Linked DNA regions of Homo sapiens: regions 2 and 3 are each linked to region 1. Evidence: promoter capture Hi-C in human tissues and cell types (Jung and others, 2019). All regions are on one chromosome and are shown on one strand. The core of a region is centred on a gene start or on the middle of the fragment in contact, and the rest is flanking DNA. Distances in the headings are between cores, read along the strand shown. Region 1 holds the start of USP31 (ubiquitin specific peptidase 31). Region 2 overlaps GGA2 (golgi associated, gamma adaptin ear containing, ARF binding protein 2). Region 3 holds the start of PALB2 (partner and localizer of BRCA2).

Region 1 (3,578 bases), core at 250-2,749:
GATGGCTTTCTTCCTGGTGTCCAGATAAGAATTTTGACTAAGAGGAGAGTGGAGCCGATTAGGGACAGTGCAGAGCACCCTGGAGATGTCATCATAGAGCCCTACTTACATTGGGGAGGGAGGTCAAAGGTAAAAACCATTTACTTTGAAACGTGGTGTAAGGTGGCCTTCATGTTTTAAAAAGGAGGAAGGGCTCTCCCTTCTCTGATTTCTCTCTTCTGCCTCAGGACTCAGACTAGCCCTTTTAGCAGAGGGGAGCCTATAGAGAGGAGGTCATATACTAGTTGATTTTGGACTAAAGGCATCCCAAAGATGTACTATTTTTTGCTCCCTGCACTATTTTTTTTTTAATGGAACCAACGTTTAAAAATAGGATTTCTGCCTTCTCTTAAAACATCAGATGATCTGGTAACGCTGAGCTCCTGTTCTCACATGGGAACAACTGGCTGGAGCTGAGTGGCAGCCACCTCTTTAGAAAGATGTTAATTTGAAGTCTGCTATAGTCCCCATCATTCCTTATATTTCCCCCAACACTGAGACCCAAGTCACTTGAAAGTCAATATGATGATTCAAACACCAGGATTCTTCACTCATTTGTGGGTTTGTGACCTGTGATATTTGTGGATTCGTGACCTTTGGTTTAGAGGTCAAGTATAGGGGTTGTAAATAAAACTTGGGTTTGAATCAGATAAGAACTGTACCAATCTCAAAGACGGTGAATTAAAGATTAAAGAAAATATTGCATGCTTGGCATAATGTGTGGAACACAACAGCTATTGTAAACACCCAGTAGGAATGTAAGCTGCAAGAGGGCAGGTAGAAACCGTGCTAATTTAATCCGCTGGGGATATGACATTTGATTCTAATTTAATAGGTTTAATTCTTTGCAATATCCCCAGTAACTGCTGAATGAATGAGTGAGTGAATGAATGAATGGAATGATGAATGATGGGAGAGCCCGGAGGAGTTTTAAAGGCTGGAATGAAAAGGAAAGTAGTTATGATAACAGCGTTTCGCTGGGACTCCAAGGTGCAGCCAGGAAGAAAAGCCCGCTGGGACGTGCCAGGGTCTGTGACTGCGCTCCGCTGGCACCCAGAGGGTAGGTATCTGCAACGTCCCTTGGGAGCCAGACAGGGCTGACTTGCCCAGGACCTGTCAGGGCCATGTCCACCAGCTCTTGCACGGTCTGGTAACTGACAGCATCCTGATTCCTGCACGTTCCCGCCTCTGCCATCTGACCAGCAAAGACAGAGACCCACCCCGGGGATCCACCATCCAACGGGAGCCCAGCCTTTTCCTCCAAGCCGGGACGGCGCCCACACTAGACATGGCCTCCCTCGGGCTTCACGCAGCAGGACCGCGCCCGCAGCCTCCAGGCATCGCGTCCGGCTGGAGAGGCAGCTACCGTCCCACAGTGAACATGGCGGCCGAGGCGGCTTCAGCGCCGGGCGGGCGGCGCCGGGAGGCACGTCACGTGAGCGGCTCAGCTGGGCGGACCGCGCGCGCGCCCGCTGGCCCCGCCGGCCGCCGCTCGCTCGCTGGCTCGGCTGCGCTTTGAGGTGTGTGGGGCGTCGAGCCCCCGGGCCCGGTGAGGCGCGGCGCTGCGGGATGCGGCGGCGGCCGTGGCGGGGCCGCGGGCCGGGCGGGCGGGCGCGGTGATGAGTGTCTGCGGCCGCCGCCATGTCCAAGGTAACGGCGCCTGGGTCCGGGCCGCCGGCGGCGGCGAGCGGGAAGGAGAAGCGCTCCTTCAGCAAGCGGCTGTTTCGGAGCGGCCGCGCTGGCGGCGGCGGCGCGGGGGGCCCCGGGGCGTCCGGGCCGGCCGCGCCTTCCTCGCCCTCCTCGCCCTCCTCTGCACGCTCGGTGGGCAGCTTCATGAGCCGCGTTCTCAAGACGCTGTCCACGCTCTCGCACCTTAGCTCTGAGGGCGCCGCCCCAGACCGCGGCGGCCTCCGCAGCTGCTTCCCGCCCGGGCCGGCCGCCGCGCCCACGCCGCCGCCGTGCCCGCCGCCGCCCGCCTCTCCCGCGCCGCCCGCTTGCGCCGCCGAGCCGGTGCCCGGCGTGGCGGGGCTCCGCAACCACGGCAACACGTGCTTCATGAACGCCACGCTGCAGTGCCTCAGCAACACCGAGCTCTTCGCCGAGTACCTGGCGCTGGGCCAGTACCGGGCGGGGCGGCCCGAGCCCTCGCCTGACCCGGAGCAGCCTGCGGGCCGCGGCGCGCAGGGCCAGGGCGAGGTCACTGAGCAGCTGGCGCACCTGGTGCGGGCCCTCTGGACCCTGGAGTACACCCCGCAGCACAGCCGCGACTTCAAGGTGAGCCCGCGCGCCGCCGCGCCCCCACTGCACCCCGAGCCCCTGGGGCACCTGCCCGCCCAGGTCTTCCTTCCCTCGGTTCCTCTTGGCCCGGCAGGCTTCTGCATTGGTTGCTCCGAGTGGTCTGGGCAGTCGACCAGTGATTTTAAGGAGATTCATTCATTCATTCATTTATTCACTCACTCACTCACTCAAACATGTATTTATTGAGAACTTACTACATACGTGCCCATACTCTGTGATAATAGGCAATGGGAGTGACGTTGCAATGAACAAGACTATCCGCCTTCATGGAACTTGCATTTTTGTGGGGTGGGAGTGTTGAGCATGGGTTCAAATCCTGGTTCTGCCACTTACTAGCAATGTGACGTCGGGTAAGTTAAGCAGCCTCTCTGTTCTTACAGTTTCTTCATCTGGGGGACCTACTTTGTAAGGTGGTTGTGAGCTGCAAACAAGTTAATATATTAAATCGAACACTGTGGAATTACCCATATTTAACCGTTTTTTATTTACAGATTGGCACTTTTATAGGGTTCAACCTGATAAGTAAAATACTTCCATATCATGTGTATTTGCTGCTATTATTTTTGTTATTAAAGACTTGAAGAAGTTAACGAGATAATATCAGATAGTGGTTTGAAGAAAGAAAAACCTGCTGCTGTGATTGATGTGCTGACAGGCTACTTTTTATTTTTATTTTATTTTTAGAGACAGGGTCTTGCTCTGTTGCCCAGGCTGGAGTGCAGTGCTCACATAGCCTCAAACTCCTGGGCTCAAGCAATCCTCCCGCCTCACCTTCCAGAGTATTTAATAGCTGGGACTACAGACACACACCACCATACCTACCTATTTTTTATTTTTAAAACACTTTTGTAGAGACGGGGGTTTTGCTGTGTTGCCCAGACTGGTCTTGAACTCTTGTCCTCAAGCCACTCTCCCCGCTTTGGCCTCCCAAAGTGCTGGGATTACAGGGGTGAGCTATACATCCCTGGGGGTATGTATGGCCCTTGGCCAAGCCCTCCTTTGCTGTTTGCTGGTGGGGCTGCAAGTGTAGTGAGAGGGTGAGATTTGAGAGCCGAGTGGTGGGCTGGGACCGGATGGTATGGGACCATTTAGGATGCACTAAGAAATTGGGCGGTTACTCTAAGCAGAAGGGGAACATGATGTGAGATTGTGTAAGGGATACTTTCAGGTGGGACATGAATATGGTATTAAACAGCATGGAATCGGGCGGGGCGCAGTGGCTCATGCCTGTAATCCTAGCA
Region 2 (3,238 bases), core at 557-3,056, 320 kb before region 1:
TTTTTGTGTGTGTGTGGCTTTTTGTTTTTTGTTTGTTTGTTTGTTTGAGACAGAGTCTCGCTCTGTCACTTAGGCTGGAGTGCAGTTCATTGCAACCTCCGCCTCCCGAGTTCAAGTGATTTTCGTGCCTCAGCCTCTCAAATGGCTGGGATTACAGGTGTGTACCACCATGCCCAGCTAATTTTTGTATTTTTAGTAGAGATGGGGTTTTGCCATGTTGTCCAGGCTGGTCTTGAACTCTTAACCTCAAGTGATCCACCCGCCTTGGCCTCCTAAAGTGCTGGGATTACAGGCGTGAGCCCCCACGCCTGGCTGATAATTCTCTATTTTCTATAGTGTTCATGCATTATTTTAATAATGATCGTATCTTCCTCAAAAATGTGATTTTTAATAACTGGTGGTGTGTGTATGATGGTTGGATGGTGGGGAAAGGTCAGTTTGGAGGGTCATAGGAGTCCAGCTAGAGTCATGAGGACTTGGATTATGGTAGTGCAGAGGAATTCAGTCCTGGACATGTTCTGCATGGAGAAGCAACAGCATCTGGGGATAACATGTACATCTCTTTCCAGCCTGGCTGTCCGGGGGGTTTGTAGTGGTGTTAAACCTTCTGCTTGTGCCCTTTATACCAGGCAGCCTGCCGCCTCTCATTGTGTATGACCGGAATGGATTCAGAATTCTGCTCCACTTCTCCCAGACGGGAGCCCCTGGGCACCCAGAGGTACAGGTGCTGCTCTTGACCATGATGAGCACGGCTCCCCAGCCTGTCTGGGATATCATGTTTCAAGTGGCTGTGCCAAAGGTGAGTCATCTGTTGGGGATTTCTCAGTAATGGCTGTCGTTTTTGAGTGCCAGGTTCTTTTCTGGGACTTACCTGTCGAGTGTCAAGGAAAGAATCTTCACTCAAACTAACTGAAGATAAAGTGGGAATGTAATGGCTTACCTGACTGGGGATTCCTGAATATCTGACTTCAGATATGAGTGAATCCAAATAGGTTCTTAAACAATGCCTTAAGAATCTGTATCTCTTGACTCTGCTTTTCTTTGGCACCATTCTGACAGTTTCTCCACAAACAGGAAAGTGGCTACCCACAGCTCCAGGGTTGCATGGTCCTTAACCCTCTTTATCTCAGAAACTCTCACCGGGCATGAAGCACATATATTGATTACCCAGGAAAGGGCTCTGATTGGGCTTGTTGGTGTTACTTCCATACCTTGGACCAGGAACTTGTATCCTGGGATATGAGACACTTGGCCAATGTGAGATAACATCCATCCCTTTTCAAGGGAAGTGGGGCCCTACTGATTAACAGGCACCCCACAGTCACAGGGGAAGGGGCCTGTCCTGAAAGGAAAAGATTCGAGACAGACAAAAATATGACCTGCAGTCTCTACTTCTTACGGTAGTCCTATGGGCAATGTTCTGCTACTACCTCTGTTTTATAAGTTAACCCAAGGCTCAGAAATTAAATATTTTACTCAAGGTCACAGAGCTAGTGAGAAGCAGTTAGAATTCAACCCAAGATGTGCCCTGGCTGTTGATGCTGCGTCTCAGATGCCGGTTATTGACCACACAACTCCCGATCCATTCTGTGTGTGGAAGGAAAGGCCTCTTAGATCCTTTTATCAATTAGTGGGAGTCTGTCTGCTTGGGCTCCCATAGGTGCCTCGGGGTACCACGTTTAAGAGGGCCATTTCCTCTTGGAGGGGTGTTGGGGAGGTCCAGCTCCCCCTCACCTGATCTCCATCCTAGAAGCTGTGGTTAGGAATGAGTTACATGTTGGTTTTCTTCCCCTGATAGTCAATGAGAGTGAAGCTGCAGCCGGCATCCAGCTCCAAGCTTCCTGCATTCAGTCCTTTGATGCCTCCAGCTGTGATATCTCAGATGCTGCTGCTTGACAATCCACACAAAGTATGTTCCAGTGTCTGTGGTAGCAGGGAGATGGGGGCCCCTGAACTGTAAGGGGAGGTAACTTTGTGGGTAGAGAGAGGCACATTGAGGCCTTGCTCTAAAGTCTCTGGTTTGCTGGGCACAGTGGTTCACCCCTGTAATCCCAGCACTTTGGGAGGCTGAGGCAGGTGGACCACCTGAGGTCAGGAGTTTGAGACCAGCCTGGCCAACATGGTGAAACCCCATCTCTACTAAAAATACAAAAATTAGCTGGTTGTGGGGGCACGCACCTTTAGTCCTAGCTGCTCAGGAGGCTGAGGCAGGAGAATTGCTTGAACCCAGGAGGTGGAGGTTGCAGTGAGCCGAGATCGCACTACTGCACTCCAGCCTGGGCAACAGAGCAAGACTCCATCTCAAAAAAAAATAAAGTCGGCCAGGTGCAGTGGCTCACGCCTGTAATCCCAGCACTTTGGGAGGCTGAGGCAGATGGATCACGAGATCAAGCGATCGAGACCATCCTGGCCAACATGGTGAAACCCCATCTCTACTAAAAATACAAAAATTAGCTGGGCATGGTGGCGTGCGCCTGTAGTCTCAGCTACTCGGGAGAGTGAGGCAGGAGAATTGCTTGAACCCAAGAGGCGGAGGTTGCAGTGAGCCAAGATCGCACCACTGCACTCCAGCCTGGTGACAGAGCGAGACTCTATCAAATAGATAGATAGATAGACAGACAGACAGATAGATGAAAGAGAGAGAGAGGGAGGGAAGGAGGAAAGGAAGGAAGGAGAAGAGAAAAAGAAAAGAAAGTCAGTCTCTGGTTTGGTTGGGTGTTAGGGGTATATGTGGAATATCCCTCGCTGGAGTCTGTCTTTGGGGCTCACTGAAGGAAGATCAGATGGATTGTCATAGCTGGGGACCAAGGGAGGGACACATGAACTCTCCCTAATCCTCTGGAGTCCTCTGAAAGGACAAGGTCTGTCTTCCTTAGCTGGTCTCTGAATTGCAGCCCATCTCAGGATTTCAGGACTGCAGAATTATCGAAGGGTTCCCAGGATATGTGCCTGTTTCCCCTTGTTTGTAGTCCCAAAGAGAGTATCCCAGGTATTTTGTGTCAGAATTGTTTGAAACACTCACTTGACTTAACATTGACCCCTGTTCCTGGGTTGCTCTCCACTGATTTGACATCTTCTGTCTCTTCTGTCCCAGGAACCTATCCGCTTACGGTACAAGCTGACATTCAACCAAGGTGGACAGCCTTTCAGCGAAGTAGGAGAAGTGAAAGACTTCCCAGACCTGGCTGTCTTGGGCGCAGCCTAACTTTTCACAAGATGGACCCTTCATTTCAAGCTT
Region 3 (3,587 bases), core at 427-2,926, 490 kb before region 1:
CTGACTGGCGACTGACTTTGTTCCCAGATGCCTAAAAGAAAACAACGGAAAACCGGGGAAAGCAAACTTAATAGGTTTCTGGACTACAGGTTTCCATCAAGAAAGCTCCCATTTGAGAGAAAAAAACATAAAGTGGGGTGCTGTCCACAATGGAGTGAGTCCAGGATATCAAAAAAGCAATGATGGATTAGGAAACTATGGCTGAGTATGGTGGCTCATGCCTGTAATCTCAGCACTTTGAGAGGCTGAGGCAGACGGATCCCTTGAGGACAGGAGCTCAAGACCAGCCTAGGCAACATAGTGAGACCCCTTCTCAACAAAAAAAAAATTTTTTAATTAGCCGGGCATGGTGGCGCGTGTCTGTAGTCCCAGCTCCTCAGAAGGCTGAGGCTAGAGGATCGCTTGAGCCTGGAAGGCCGAGGCTGCAATGAGCTGTGATTGTGCCACTGCACTCCAGCCTGGGCAACAGAGTGAGAACCTGTCTCAAAAAATAAAAACACAAAGGAAACTAGGGACTCAAGGAATAAACTCATAATTTGAATGTCTATAGCTTGGTGGCATCAGACAGACGCGGATTCAAATCCCACTTCCACGCGTGGGCTTTACGGCCTTAAAACGAGGATAATGACTATGAGTATCAGAGTTGTGAGAAAGCAAAGAAAACCAAAATAACGATAGTAACGTTAATTGACCACTTGCCCTGTTTCCAAGATTTTACAAACATATCATGTACTGATCATAAAGAACCAAATCGGCAGGGTGCGGTGGCTCACGCCTGTAATGCCAGCACTTTGGGAGGCCGAGGCGGGTCGATCACCTGAGGTCAAGAGTTAGGGACCTGCCTGGCCAACACGGTGAAACCCCGTCTCTACCAAAAAATACAAAAATTAGCCGGGCGTGGTGGCGGGCGCCTGTAATCCCAGCTACTCGAGACGCTGAGGCAGGAGAATCGCTTGAACCCGGGAGGCGGAGGTTGCAGTGAGCAGAGATCGCGCCGCGGCCCTCAGGACTGGGCGACAGAGTCTCCGCCCCCCAACCCCCTTCCTCAAAAAAAAAGAACCGAATCGTTTTTAGCGCAAGTTAACAGATACAAAAGGCAGTGTAAAAGGGCCCGAAGTCCGAGCTGTAATTCGTATGAACAGGATGGGACTTGTCCTATCCTCCCGAAGGCACTTTACCCCTATGAGAAAATCAGGAATAAATACAAAAGGCCTCAACTGGCCAAGCGCGGAGTAAACAGCAAAGCCAGACGGTACACGGGGCATCGCTAGATAATCCGGGACTAATGGCCAAAGGGACAGGGGTTGGTGGGGTAGGGGCAGGTTGGGAACGCCGACCAGGCCTCAAAGGGACGCAGGGTTGGAAAGAGGAGGATACATATCTGGACCCGCGCACCGTCTCGATGTACTCAGACTTGTTGTAGAGCAGCTCGCCCAACTCCATGGCCGCCGCCTCCTTCCCTCAGCCCCGGATCCTGTCAGAGTCAGTCGGTCAGTCTTTCAGAGATTCCGGCTACTTCCGGCCGCTCCTCCACTTCCGCTCCAGGTGGCCCACTGGGACTCATCGACAGCGCGGCTCTCCTTTAGGCGGCCTCGCTCCACTGCTCGGCCGTCTACGGCTGCGCGTGCGCAGGCCGAATGGTGGATTTAATTGGCCGGAGTTTAGGGCGCGCTTGGCCCGCGTGGGTCAGCTGATCGCGCACTGAGGGTGCGATCCCGGGCTCCCCATTCCTTCCTGGGGCGCCTCCCCGGCCCAGGGCCAACTGGGTCCCGGTGTCGGCAGGCCTGGGGTCGGCGACGGCTGCTCTTTTCGTTCTGTCGCCTGCCCGATGGACGAGCCTCCCGGGAAGCCCCTCAGCTGTGAGGAGAAGGAAAAGGTGCCGGGGGTGCGGGAAGGGCGGACGCAGGACTCTGACCCCGCTTTCCCAGGGTTTTAGGCCTGGCTTTGTGTCCTCGGCAGTCCGAGGGCAGCAGTATCATCTGACCACCCCCTCCTCTTAGGGCTGAGGGGGCACAGAAAATGAAAATGTGGAAATAGCGTGGTGCTCACGTGGTGGCGTTTAAAGAACAAATTTCATTACAGTAGCAGCGCATTAATACAATGTGTAACAGTTTGTAGATAAAGCTGTATCGACACCCTTGCTCCTCCCCCCTCCCACACCCTCAATCTTTACTTCTCCCCCCGGACGGCCTCAAGTAAATCTTTTAAGTCTGGTACTTCCAGGTCCTTTCGTGTGTTAATGTGGGTGGTGGAGGAGGGGCGTATCCCTAACCACCAAAAAGGAATCCTATGTATATTTTTTGGAGAAGGGAATGTTCATAAATGGTATGATCTGAATGGTTCTGCAGGTTCCGTTTAGCTTTCCTGTCAGGACATGTTTATCTACCTTGCTTTCTTTTTTAAGTTCTAGACAGTATGTTGTAGTTTGGAAGTGCCCTCGTTTTGTTTCTTTTTTCTTCCTTTTCTGTTTTTCTTCTTTTTTGAGACAGAGTCTCACTCTGCCACCCATGCTGGGGTGCAGTGGCGCGATCTCGGCTCACTGCAACCTCCGCTTCCTGGGATCAAGCGACTCTCCTGCCTCAGCCTCCCGAGTAGCTGGGATTACACGAACCCGCCACTGCACCTGGCCTTGGAAGTGCCCTTGCTTCTTTAGACTGTACTTTACTGATAGACTTTTAGGATGTTTCCAGCTTGTGCTGATGTTATTCTTATCCTGGCTTACCTTCTGGTGGAGGTGAGAAAGATCATTTATAAGTAAACAAGATAATCCCCAGACATTGATAAGATTGGTGGGAGGCCAGTCTCCCTGGCTCACGCCTGTAATCCCCGCACTTTGGGAGGCCGAGATGGGCAGATCGCTTGAGCTCAGAGTTTGAGACCAGCCTAGGCAACGTAGTGAAACCCCGTCTCTACTAAAAATACAAAAATTAGCCGGGTGTGGTGACGCCAGCCTGTAGTCCCAGAGGCTCAGGCCTCAGAGGCTGATGCACGAGAATCGCTTGAACCAGGGGACGCTGAGGTTGCAGGGAGCTGCCGAGATCGCGCCACTGCACGCCAGGCTGGACGACAGAGTGAGACTGTCTCTCAAAAAAAAAGAAAATTCCTTACGGTTGGCAACTTGTCTAGTAGCATGTTTTGCACATAGGTTTTGTTTTGTTTGTTTTTGAGACAGACTCTCCGCTCTATCTCCCAGGCTGGAGTGCAGTGGCTCGATCTTGGCTCACTGCAACCTCCGCCTCTCAGGTTCAAGCGATTCTCCTGCCTCAGCCTCCCGAGTAGTTGGGATTACAGACGCCCAACACCACGCCGGGCTAATTTTTGTATTTTTAGTAGAGACAGGGTTTCTCCATGTTGGCCAGGCTGGTTTTGAACTCCTGACCTCAGGTAATCTGCCCGCCTTGGCCTTCCAAAGTGCTGGGATTACAGGTGTGAGCCACTGCACCCGGCCTTTTTTTTTTTTTTTTTTTTCAAGCAGAGTCTCGCTCTGTTGCCCAGGCTGGAGTGCAGTGGCGTGATCTAGGCCCACTGCAACCTCCGCCTCCGGGTTCAAGCAATTCTCCTGCTTCAGCCTCCTACAGGCACCCACC

What was found. Contacts are between HindIII fragments. The study calls those that stand out against the background at their distance.
Region 2: a contact is called between a fragment that was not itself captured here and the fragment with the promoter of USP31 in region 1, in 1 of the 25 tissues and cell types used here (pancreas).
Region 3: the fragment with the promoter of PALB2 here is called in contact with the fragment with the promoter of USP31 in region 1 in 1 of the 25 tissues and cell types used here (H1 embryonic stem cells).

Annotation. Positions count from the first base shown.
Region 1 is chr16:23,147,373-23,150,950 of GRCh38, reverse strand. It overlaps USP31 (ubiquitin specific peptidase 31), which reads left to right and starts at 1,499. Exons shown (of 16, transcript NM_020718.4): 1 at 1,499-2,313. The coding sequence starts at 1,681. RefSeq lists an enhancer at 1,099-1,318 and silencers at 1,499-1,598, 1,749-1,798, 1,899-1,998, 2,129-2,358. The HindIII fragment of the contact is 9,135 bases long and covers 1-3,578 here.
Region 2 is chr16:23,467,557-23,470,794 of GRCh38, reverse strand. GGA2 (golgi associated, gamma adaptin ear containing, ARF binding protein 2) reads left to right here. Exons shown (of 17, transcript NM_015044.4): 15 at 630-799; 16 at 1,799-1,909; 17 at 3,095-3,238. The coding sequence ends at 3,205. Among named protein-coding and RNA genes, the nearest start is that of COG7, 16 kb to the right of the region's middle. The HindIII fragment of the contact is 3,947 bases long and covers 1-3,238 here.
Region 3 is chr16:23,639,399-23,642,985 of GRCh38, reverse strand. It overlaps PALB2 (partner and localizer of BRCA2), which reads left to right and starts at 1,676. Exons shown (of 13, transcript NM_024675.4): 1 at 1,676-1,876. The coding sequence starts at 1,829. DCTN5 (dynactin subunit 5) reads right to left here and starts at 1,520. Exons shown (of 6, transcript NM_032486.4): 1 at 1,396-1,520; 2 at 1-31. The coding sequence starts at 1,443. RefSeq lists an enhancer at 458-1,247 and a silencer at 2,375-2,609. The HindIII fragment of the contact is 21,224 bases long and covers 1-3,587 here.